Linked DNA regions of Homo sapiens: region 2 is linked to region 1. The links are contacts of gene promoters, found by promoter capture Hi-C in blood cells and fetal thymus (Javierre and others, 2016). All regions are on one chromosome and are shown on one strand. Each heading gives the region's core, a stretch centred on a gene start or on the middle of the fragment in contact. The rest is flanking DNA. Distances are from core to core; before and after follow the strand shown. Region 1 holds the start of DDB1 (damage specific DNA binding protein 1). Region 2 overlaps LOC105369322 (a long non-coding RNA gene).

Region 1 (5,171 bases), core at 2,643-5,142:
AAGCAGGACCGGGGTAGGGAAAAAGGGGGCAGGAGACATGGGAGGAGGGAAAAGGGAGGCTCTTCCAGCCAGAGGGGGAGCATAAGCCAAGGCCTGGATGAGTGAATAGTGTGGTGGTGCCAGGAAGCACGGGTGACCAGCAGGAAGGGGTGGGGAGGAGAGGACTGGCCACAGGCAGCCTCAGGAGGGGTTGTGGACAGGCTGGTGGAGGGTTACAGAGCAGTGCCGCCAGGCTTGGCTGAGTGGATACAGGGTGCAGACAGAAGTGAGTAGCGTGGGGGCCAGAATGGAGTGTGGCTTGAGCTCTGCTGTTACAGGGACTTGGGTTCAAATCCCACTTCTGCCTCTCATTAGCTGCAGGAACTCAGGGAAGATACATCATTGTCGGGAGCTAAAATTCTTCCTCTGTAAAATAGGGATTTACTAGAACAGAGTATATGCCCATGATATAGTGGAAACTCAATCAAATGAAGCTACTCCCTTTTTCAAACAGGCTGTGAAAAGCCAGAGTCTGCTGAACAAGGGCTGCAGCCCCTGGCTTTGTCCTGAAGACAGAGTGAGACTGGGGCCCAACGTGGACTCAGAGGGCTGGGCTCCCACCGCCACCTGGTGGCCCGGTGGGAACCTGCAGCTGAGCCAGGTCCTGGCAAGGTGAACTTCCGGCTGTGGCTTCTTCCTGAGCTTGCTAGCACCAGCTCCTTTGTACAAAATTTGGCTCTGCTGCCTCCCTGCCAACCTGTCCTGCATCCAGCCAGGGCCAGGGCTAAGCCACCTGCTTCAGAGTAGCCTAGGTCTGTAGGGAGCAAGAAGAACAATAAGATTGGTTCCATTTGCTGAGCAGTGACTAAGAGCCAGGCCCAGTTCTAAGTGTTTTTGAGCATGTCTCATTTAATCTTCCCAACAGGCCGGGTGTGGTAGCTCATGCCTATAATCCCAGAACTTTGGGAGGCCAAGGCGGGTGGATCACCTGAGGTTGGGAGTTCGAGACTAGCCTGATCAACATGGAGAAACCCCATTTCTACTAAAAATACAAAATTAGCTGGGCGTGGTGGCACATGCCTGTAATTCCAGCTACTCGGGAGGCTGAGGCAGGAGAATTGCTTGAACCTGGGAGGCGGAGGTTGTGGTGAGCCGAGATTGCGCCATTGCACTCCAGCCTGGGCAAAAAGAGCAAAACTCCGTCTCAAAAAAAAAAACCCAAACTAAAACAAAACAAAACTTCCCAACAGCCCTATGGAGGAAAGATGAGCCCAGTGAGGAAACTGAGGCACAGTTAAACTATTTTGCCCAAGGTCACACAGCCAGCAGGTGTCCAGGTCTGCCTGGCTCCAAAGCTGGTTCCCTTTTGGCCATATCATGCTGCTTTCTCGAGGGGCTGGAGGGAAGTGGAGGGTGACAGAGGTTGCCCTAGAAAGGACATGGGTTTGTGGCTCTCAGAGCCTACCAGGGACTGGAACACACAATGAAGTTGTGAGTTGGCCTCACTCCAAGCCCAGCCTCCAGCAGCACTACCCTCCAAGAAAGTGGCCTGCTCCCCATCATGATAATCTGTCTTTTACAGAGCCAGAAGAGGGTTTAGGGACCAGTGCTATCCCTGGTTTCAGTGGCCTGAAAGGATGGAAAAGGAAAGGAAGTCAAGTGAGGCCTCCAGGACTCTGCTTGATCAACACCACACAACCACTGGAGGTAGGCCTTAATTTGCCTTATAATGCAGATGAAGAAAAAGAGGCGCAGAGAGGTCTGTAAAAGGTCATGCAGCTGGTCAGTGGCAGGCTGAAATTTGAATCCAGATATGTTCAAGGCTTGTTTTGGTTCAAATCAGTGGGCCTGGAGCAAAGCCCAGGGACATGGCCAGCCTCCCACACTGTAGATCCCAGCTCCAGACCGGCCCACATAAGCCCCAAGGTTAGGAACGGTCACATGGTCATTCTTCACGATTCCTTCTGTGACCGGTACAATGTCTATTACAGAGCAGGTAACTGTTACTGTTTTACTCTGAATGCAAGACCCAGATAAGGGGCAGAGTGGCTCTGAAGGGACTCAAGAGGCTGCAGCCCCAGGCCTGGCTGGGACCAGCAGCCTCCAGGAAACAAAGAAAAGCAGGGATCAGACCCTGGGAGAGAGGATGACCCTCTCTCTTCACCCGTGAGCCTCAGGAGGCAATAGCATCTCTCAGTCAAAGTGTAAGGAGCTTTAGCTTGCCCAAGGCTGGGATCCTGCTTTGAGACCATGCTGCCATTCCCGTCCCGGCCCTGTATGACTCACCATGGTGTGGAGGCTCTGAAACAGGCTGAGTTCACACCGTTGCACTGAGCTGCTGGAGGATGGACAATCCTGTGCTACCTGGGTCTGAGTACAGTGGAGGCAGCAGCAGCACCTGCAGGAGTGGGTAACGATACAAGCTGCGGAAGGAACTCGCAGTCGACTGGCACAATCACGCCTTCAGCACCCTAGTAATTAGGGAGCTGCCCCAGACTTCGGTCCAAGTCCAAACTCTAGTACATGGGCTACGGATGGAGAAGAGTGTGGGGCTGACCAAGGTTCATGCCTGCACTTCACTGCCAGAAGACAGATCAATCCATGTCAAGCACAGGTCTGCCTTTATGTCCAGGAACAGCACCCACTTCATCACTAAAGGACAGTGATCCTCAGAATAACTATCTTTTACACGGGCATCACATGCAGCGAAAAAGTTAACAAAGCTCGTCACACGCTTGCCCTCACTGGCCTTGGCACCAAAAGGGAAGGGAATGGGGGGAGCTAGCCAGGTTTGTGACCCATTTTACTTCTGGGAAACAGACTCAGAGAGCTCTAGGGACTTGTCCAAGGTAATACAGGTAACAGCCAGAATCTAAACCAATGTCTAGTTTTTCTACAGAGTGTGTTTTTACTACTGATAATTCAGTGCCTCCAAAGTCAGGCAGAGTCTCTGCTATGGGAAAGGCAAGATGTAAACCACGATGACTTTCTAGCTTTTCCTCAGTTCAGCCTGGTTCAGCAGCGTGTTGGCCTCTGTGTGGGTGCACAATAGGAAGAATCAACATAGCTCTGCCTCAGCCTACTTGGGGTTGTGGGGAGGGTCTTAGGTAAACCAATTCCTCCCTAAGCCTCAGCTTCCTCATCTGTAAAATGGGGGTTGGCTCCTCTCTGGCATTCTGCGAGTGTGCCAAGCCACGTGGTATTCCTCTTGTTCCCGGGGAGCCTGTTTGATGTGGGGTACCCTGGAGGCTGCAGGGCTGACGGCTCTCCTGGCTCATTAAGGTTCCCTACGGAGAAATACTGGTTTTGTGTTTGAGGTTCGAATTTGTAGAGCAATAGGGGCACTAATAACGTTGGGCAAGCAGACCGGTGGGCCCTTTGAAGTCTGAAGAATCAACGCGCAAAAGGGAGGAGGTGAGCAGGTGGTCGTTCAAACGTCAGGCGAGGGCACCAGCTGGATCTGGAGGAACTGAGACAGTGAAAGGAAAGCAGGCAAGGTTCTAGTCTGGGATATGCACGAATCGCGGTCTCCCTTCCCTCTCTATGCCTCCGCAGTCCTTCCCGTTCCCAAAGGAGGAACAGCCCGAGGGCTCCTGGAGCAACGGAAGGAGGACTGGATGCGGGGAAGGGCAAAGGGCGCGGAACGGGGTGGGGAGTCTGCGGGCGAGCTCGGAGGACACTGGCGCACCTCCCCCGCCGGCTCACGGCCGCATCCGCCACATCCGAAGGCGCCGCGACTTCCCGGAGACCCCGAAGCGTGCGCTCTCATCCGGGTCCTGCGGGCGCTGGCGGAAAGAGGCGAGGCGGTGCCTCCGGGGGCGGGGCCTCCTTCGGTTGGCGGCCTCGGGCTTCGGGAGTCCTCCAAGAGGCCAGGTGAGGCCGTCCCGTGATGCCCCGCGCCCCGGCCGCTCTGGCCTGCAACGTGTCTCTGGGGCGGAGGCAGCGGCAGTGGAGTTCGCTGCGCGCTGTTGGGGGCCACCTGTCTTTTCGCTTGTGTCCCTCTTTCTAGTGTCGCGCTCGAGTCCCGACGGGCCGCTCCAAGCCTCGACATGTCGTACAACTACGTGGTAACGGCCCAGAAGCCCACCGCCGTGAACGGCTGCGTGACCGGTGAGGCTGCCGGGGCCGGAGACCCCGGCGAGTGAGGGAGTTGGGGGGAGCCGCGGCCTAGGGAGGCCCGCCGCCCCGGGGGCGGCCGGGCAGGAGTGGGCCCGGCGAATGGAAGGCGCTGGCGGCCGAGGAACCTCCCCCAGCACCGCGACCTCGAAAGAGTCGTCCCTGTACGCGCTTTTTGGGGGTTGGAAGCCGCTCTCGAGGGTCCCCTTTCGTCCTGGGGAGGTCATTCGGCCTCGAGAACAGGGCGGGCCCAGTGAGACAGAGGAGTGTGAGTTGGTTGTGCGGTGTCGTTTGGGCCCGGAGATTGGCTTTCTGTGGCCAGGAAAAGGGGAGGTGGTAATGACGACTTTGGGGTCAAGATTTTCCTGTGGGGAAGTCTGGGGGGCCCAGGAGGTGGAGGGATGTGAGGAATGCCCGCATTATCCCACAGAGGGAGAGGAGCCCTCTTCAGGCTAACCCCTTTGCCTGGGGCTGTTGTTTACATGAGGGCCCTGCTGGAGAAGAGGGTTTGGTTTGCCTGGCCCAGTGCTGGGTTTGCCTTGTTGACGATGCGCTTGGATTGTTAAGGACACCGATGTTCAGAACCCGGGAAGAGTCATCTTAACCCACATTCTCAGCTGAATATGCAGACCCCAAGCTTGCATGTTTATATACACCCTAATCATGATTCCAAAACAAAACTGTTGTTCAGAGTTGGAGGTAGCTGAGTGTGGATGGAGGTATTGGTAGACTGCCAGGAGGGCAGGGGGTGTGGACAAAACAGTGTTTTCATATAAAGCTCTGGGACTTCTTCATTTGACTTGGTCTGTCAGATAAAAGTTTTGTGAGACTTTAGATGAAGACTGGAAGAAGTGAACACTTTCTCCGGCATTCTCAATTAGAGCCTGCCACTGTAACTGTAATAGAGTAAAATTGGAGGGGCAAGAGGCATGAGAAGGGATTACGCAGTCATTGTCATTTGGAGGACACACGGCTCTTAGGTCCAGTCCAGTTTTCTTAGTCTGATTAGGGAAGTAGCTTTGTTGAATGCATGAACTGAGACTCTTTGAGGTGCCGGATTTGGCAAGAAGGGGAGT
Region 2 (5,332 bases), core at 1,147-3,646, 510 kb after region 1:
AAACAGAGGCCTGGAGAGAATAAGAACCTTGCCAACTTCCCCAGCCAGTGAGGGCAGGCGCAGAACCAGGCCTCTTCGTCCCAGGGGCACCGCAGGATTGCAGAACCCTAGAAAGCTTGGGTGAGGGCCATCTCAGGCATCAAGCCCAACACATTGGTTACCTCCAAGGTGCTGGCCCTGAGTGCACCGAGCTTGCTCTGTGCACCAAGTCATTTAGCTCTCACCACACCCATGAATGGAGCAGCACCCTGCTCATGGCATTCTAGGGACGAAGCTGGGGTCTCAGAGTGGGATCGGAGCCTGCCTCTGCCCATGTTCCCTAAGCCTCCATACCGCACATGCAAGCCTGTCCTTCCAGGGCACAGGGTTGACTCAGCCTAGGCTGAAGCCCAGAAGTTTGCGATCATTTGTCTCAAATAGGCTTCTCTGACCTGAGAGCAGCACTTTGACCTCACCCTCAACACTCCACCTCTCTGTCACCCAAGAGGAGTAGCTTCTCCCAGCAGGCTCCGCTCCTCCCATCGTTTCGTGCTCAACGGCAAGGTAAAAGAGACCTCATTTTCAAAACTGGGACCCAGAGCCACACATGCAGAGAACGGAGGAGCTAGGATTCCAGTGCCTGGCTGGGCCCATACTCTCTGCTCAGCTGCCCACATTGACATCAGCGGGAGACAGGCACAGACTTCTGCCCACACGTGCTGGTCTCACCACTGACCAAGACCCAATCAGCTACAATGAGGAGAGCCTTGATGCAGGGGTGCGGCATCAGAAAAGGAAAGCTCCCGGTTCACCCCAGAGTTGCCTTAGAGCGATGGTACCCAGCTCCTGGGGCCTGGCAAGGGGGACATAGGTTTGCTCTCGTATCCTGGATTCAAGCAGTGCTTTCCAGGGCAGTGGCAGCCCCAGCCCTTTGCTGCTAATTTTCAGGGCTGGAGGCCAGGAAGGAAAACCCCAGCAGCTCTGTCTTGCCTCCCTGCTGCTCCACAGTCCCTCCACTGGTATGTACCCTTGGCCCCATAAATTCTACTGACTGCATCACTGTTGGGATTGGCAGTGGCTGCACAGGTCTGTGGAGACTGGGTGATCCACTTACTCCCAAGATGGTTGGCTGTCCCCGGAAAAAGAGCTTCTCTCTGCTGGGGTGGGCATTGCCCAGGGTCTCAGCCTACCAGGATGGCTCCTCTGGGCTCTGCCATGGCACCCCTGAGTTTTCAGAAGGAGGGAGCCTCACTAATTGCTGCTGCCCTGTCAGCTGGCTTCAGAAGGCAGGTGGGCTGTGGGCTGGGCTGCCTCATGTCTCCTGGAGGGAGCTGGAGCCTGGGTCTTGCTTTTGACATTTCAGACACCTGCAGCACACACAACTGGGGTCCCAGGATGAGGAAGAACATTCACAGGCAGATCCCCATTTCCTGGGTCTCAGTTTTCCCATCTGAAAAGTGAAGCTACGTCACCAGGAGGAGTGATTGGTAAAACATGAATTGTGTGTAATTCTTAGCAGCTAAAAGCAAAGGTCAGGATGTCCACAGAGAGCAACGTGGTGGCTCTTAGACACAGGCTGAGAGGGGGAAAAAAAGAACCAAAATGAGACAAAACAATACCATACACACAAGTTAAATATGTGTACACTAATATCCTGTAACACAACATGCATTAAAACGTGCTGAAGTTGTTACCTGGGGCTGGAAGGCTGTGGGGAATGGAGGTAAAAGGGAGTTAATGAGACAGAGGTAAGGGAAGAAGTTTGGACCTGGTGACAACCACTACAACCTCATGCTTACCAGCATGCATTTATAATGTGGTAAGCCCAATCTCCATTTCACTCTTATGCAAACTGAGGACCAGAGAGGTTAAGTAACTTGCTTGGATGACACGGTTAATAAATAGTGGAGCTGGGATCTAAATCCAAGACAGCTGGCTAGAAAACCTGGGTTTTTTTCCTGCTTTACGATACATCCCCACTTATCTCCCAGGCCATTCCCTTCTAGTCCGCCAGGCTAGTTAATAACACCACCAACTCCACAGCCTACACCTGTCTGTATGGCTTGTTACCACTTACCTGGAGTCTTCACACATGGTCCTGTGCTTAATTACTAAGCCTCCTGTGTGATGAGGCCTGGGAGCAACCCTCCAGTTGGCTCAGGTCAGACAGACTGTAAATAGTCGGGCCTATATTGGAACCCATGGCTTCTGACTCCTGTCCAGTGTTCATCCCACTGCCTCCCTAAGCAAAAGTGAGAGACATTAAAAGAAAAATAAAAAGCAACACAAAAACAAAAAACCGAAAACATGCCTCCAATTCTAAGCAAACCCAGGAACAGAGAGCTGGGAGGTCCCTGGGATCCTAAGGCCTGAAGCTCTTGACCTTCACCTGGTCATGGGGCTCTCTGTCCAGCAGCCTGGACACATCTTCACCTCTCCTGATATCACTCCTTCTCTGCCTCAACCTGTGCTCTCACTGCCCTCCAAACATGCTTCACTGAGGTCATTGCTGAGCCTTTGCACAAGGCGTGTCTATGCCCTGCAACCCATTCCTTTTCCTTCTTTCTCCACCTGGTGTTTCCCAATCTTGCTTGATCATAAGAATCATCTGAGCACTTGCTGAAAATACAGTGACTTGGGCCTCACGTTTGGCCTTCTGAATCAGACTCTCTAGGGCAGGGGCCTGGGAATCTCCACGTTTAACATACCCCAGGTGACCCTTTCGATCAGGCCAGTTTGCAGGATACTGGCCCATCCAAACCCTCCCATCCTTCAGGCCCTGGTGGGTTTCAGTGGTGCCTGTGAGGTCTTCTGGCTGCGTAGCCCTCTGTGTTGATGATACAACCCCACACCCAAGCAGGTTCGTTAACCTCCCTGAGCTTTCATTTGCTCATCTCAAAAAGGGGGCAGAGGAATCCCTATTCCATGGGATCTTGTGAGATTAAATGGGATACTACATGCAAAGTGCCCGTGCAGTTCCCAGCACGTGGAGGTGGCTGCATCCATGTTAGCTTTTTCTTTCCTGCCAGACACAAATCAGCTGCAGAAATAATGGACTAGGGCCCTCTTGAGGCTTAAAACTGTGCTCACCCCTTGGGTCCTATAGACCTGTCTCAAACAGCTTGAGATGAGTCCTCGAGATGAGGCCGTCTGAGATGCCCACCTGTCCTCTGTGGAAATATGGGTACACCTCTCTGAAAAGCCTGTGTGTTTCTTTTGTAAGTGGGTATCTGCTAATCCTGACATCTGTCCAGGGCCATGTCTGAACCTCGGCAGTGGATTGGTGGGGCTGGCATGCTGGGAAGGCACCCCGAGCCTCAGGCTCATGGCTTCATGGAGCCCGTTGCAAAAGCCCTGCTCCTCCTGGCAGGTCAGCCCTGTTGCCACTTTCTCACTACTCCCTTAACTCTTTCTGGATATTTTTGGAGGAGTTATTTTTCTAGACTTCTCTGTCACCTGTTTGGGCCATGACAGTGGGGTAGAGCAACCATCAGGAAAAGCTGGTGGGTGATGCTATTGTGGGGATAGAGACCCCTACAGGTGATAGAGTTGGCAGAAGGAACTGGGAACATTCCTGACCATTCAGCAGGAGTTGGCAGGAGACTGCCAGTAGATGGAGGACTGTCTGGAGAGGGAGGAGACCCGGCTGCTTCTACTAACGGTACTGTGTGACCTTGGCAAGTCCTTTCCTATCTCGGGCCCCCACTTCCTCATCTGTGAAATGGAAGCATTAGACCCGATCATGATCCCCAAAGTCATTTCTGATTCTGACATTCTTAGTTTCATGGTTGGGATCAACTATACATTTCTACTATAATTTTTAAAAATTTAAACAGAAAAATAGCATCCATTGTCCAAACATGTGTGACTTCTGTGTCTAATACTTCTGAGGTCCTGCCTGGGCTCTGCCGATATTACCATATAATCCACATTTTCGGCAAGGCTCGGGGTCTCACTTGAGTTACCCACGGATTGTGCTGCACGACAGCTGCACTGGAATTCCAGTAAGTGTGCTTCCTTATGACAAGCCGTTCGACTTTCTGATCCTCAGCTTCCTCTTCTGTGTAAAGGGGGTGGTATTGTCATGGCCAGTCCACTGTAGGTGCTGGATAAATTCCTGCTGTTTCCTTTCTGCCCATTCAAGTTGGGGAGCAGGAGCCTGAGCCCAGCCCCAGCCATGTGGCTGCTCTTTCCTTAAGGGTCCTCCCCAGACACAAGCCGAGAGGAGGGCAAAGTTAGCAGATTTTTTTTTTTAAGAGATGAGTCTTGTTATGTTGCCCAGGCTGGACTTGAACTCCTAGGCTCAAGGAAGGAATCCTCCCGCCACAGCCTCCTGGGTAACTGGGACTACAGGTGTGCACCACCACGCCCATACAGATGTTTTATTCCAACACATATTAAGTGCCAGGATTACAAAGTTAGAAAAATCCCCACTAGTCTCCCAGTCTAGCAGAATTAACACAAATAACAGAAACTGACCCCATTCAGCTTCAAAAGGAAAAGGTTGGCTAACCAAGGACATAGTCTAAGGAAATTAGTCCCCAAAGATGATTAATCAATGGGATGGAGGATCCAGAAGGGTGTCAGGACACAGCTGAGCACTGCCAGGAGAAACTGCCATGTGAGTGCCACATGTCCAGTGTGAGGACATGGACCAGTGTTTGGGGGGACCTAAAGGTTCTTCATTGATCAAGCTTCACAAAGAATAACAAGTTTTCGGGATCTCCTACCTGTGCCATCCTAGGAATAAAGGCAGGGAGATAAGCCCCAGTCTTTGACCTCCAAGAGAAACAATAACAGGTCTGAGGTTCAAGTCCTGGCTCTGCCACTAACATTCTGTGTGATAGGCCAGTTGCTGCCTTCCCCAGGTCTCAGTTTCTCCATCTGTAAAATGAGAGTGATGGGCTAGAATGACTGGTAGATTGCATCCACCTGTTAGGAGTCATGCTTGTATGATGCTGTGACTGTTCTGGTCTTCTAAGGGAAGGAGTTGGAAAGTTATTTTATTGATTTGAGTCTACTCATGTTTTCAAATAAAAACATCTAAGACTATCAATGTCCCTCAAAGAACTGCTTTAGCTGCATCCCACAGATTTGTATATGTTATATTTTCATTTTCTTTCAGCTTATTCATTTTGTAGATGTGGGAACTTATAGCCAGAGAGGAGAAGTTTCCCTTCCCATTGTACCTCCCCAACATCTCCCCCTCCATCCCCAAGGCCACACACAGTGGGCAAACGGCAGGGCAAAACACTTGACTGGCCGTCTCACTTCTACTCATTTATTTTTTTGGACAATATTTGATGAGAATTCCACTTTTAAAATATAGATTTTGACTATTTGAACAAACTGT

Evidence for each region. The method cuts DNA at HindIII sites, captures the fragments that hold promoters and counts their contacts. A CHiCAGO score of 5 or more calls a contact.
Region 2: a contact is called between a fragment that was not itself captured here and the fragment with the promoter of DDB1 in region 1, in 1 of 17 cell types (naive CD4 T cells). The highest score is 5.6, in naive CD4 T cells.

What each region holds. Positions count from the first base shown.
Region 1 is chr11:61,331,826-61,336,996 of GRCh38, reverse strand. It overlaps DDB1 (damage specific DNA binding protein 1), which reads left to right and starts at 3,892. Exons shown (of 27, transcript NM_001923.5): 1 at 3,892-4,089. The coding sequence starts at 4,029. TKFC (triokinase and FMN cyclase) reads right to left here and starts at 3,769. Exons shown (of 18, transcript NM_015533.4): 1 at 3,668-3,769; 2 at 2,266-2,377. The coding sequence starts at 2,268. RefSeq lists enhancers at 3,285-3,807, 3,808-4,330 and a silencer at 3,630-3,889. The HindIII fragment of the contact is 9,653 bases long and covers 1-4,734 here.
Region 2 is chr11:60,816,485-60,821,816 of GRCh38, reverse strand. The region is part of intron 2 of LOC105369322 (a long non-coding RNA gene); the gene reads left to right. Among named protein-coding and RNA genes, the nearest start is that of CCDC86, 23 kb to the left of the region's middle. The HindIII fragment of the contact is 4,558 bases long and covers 118-4,675 here.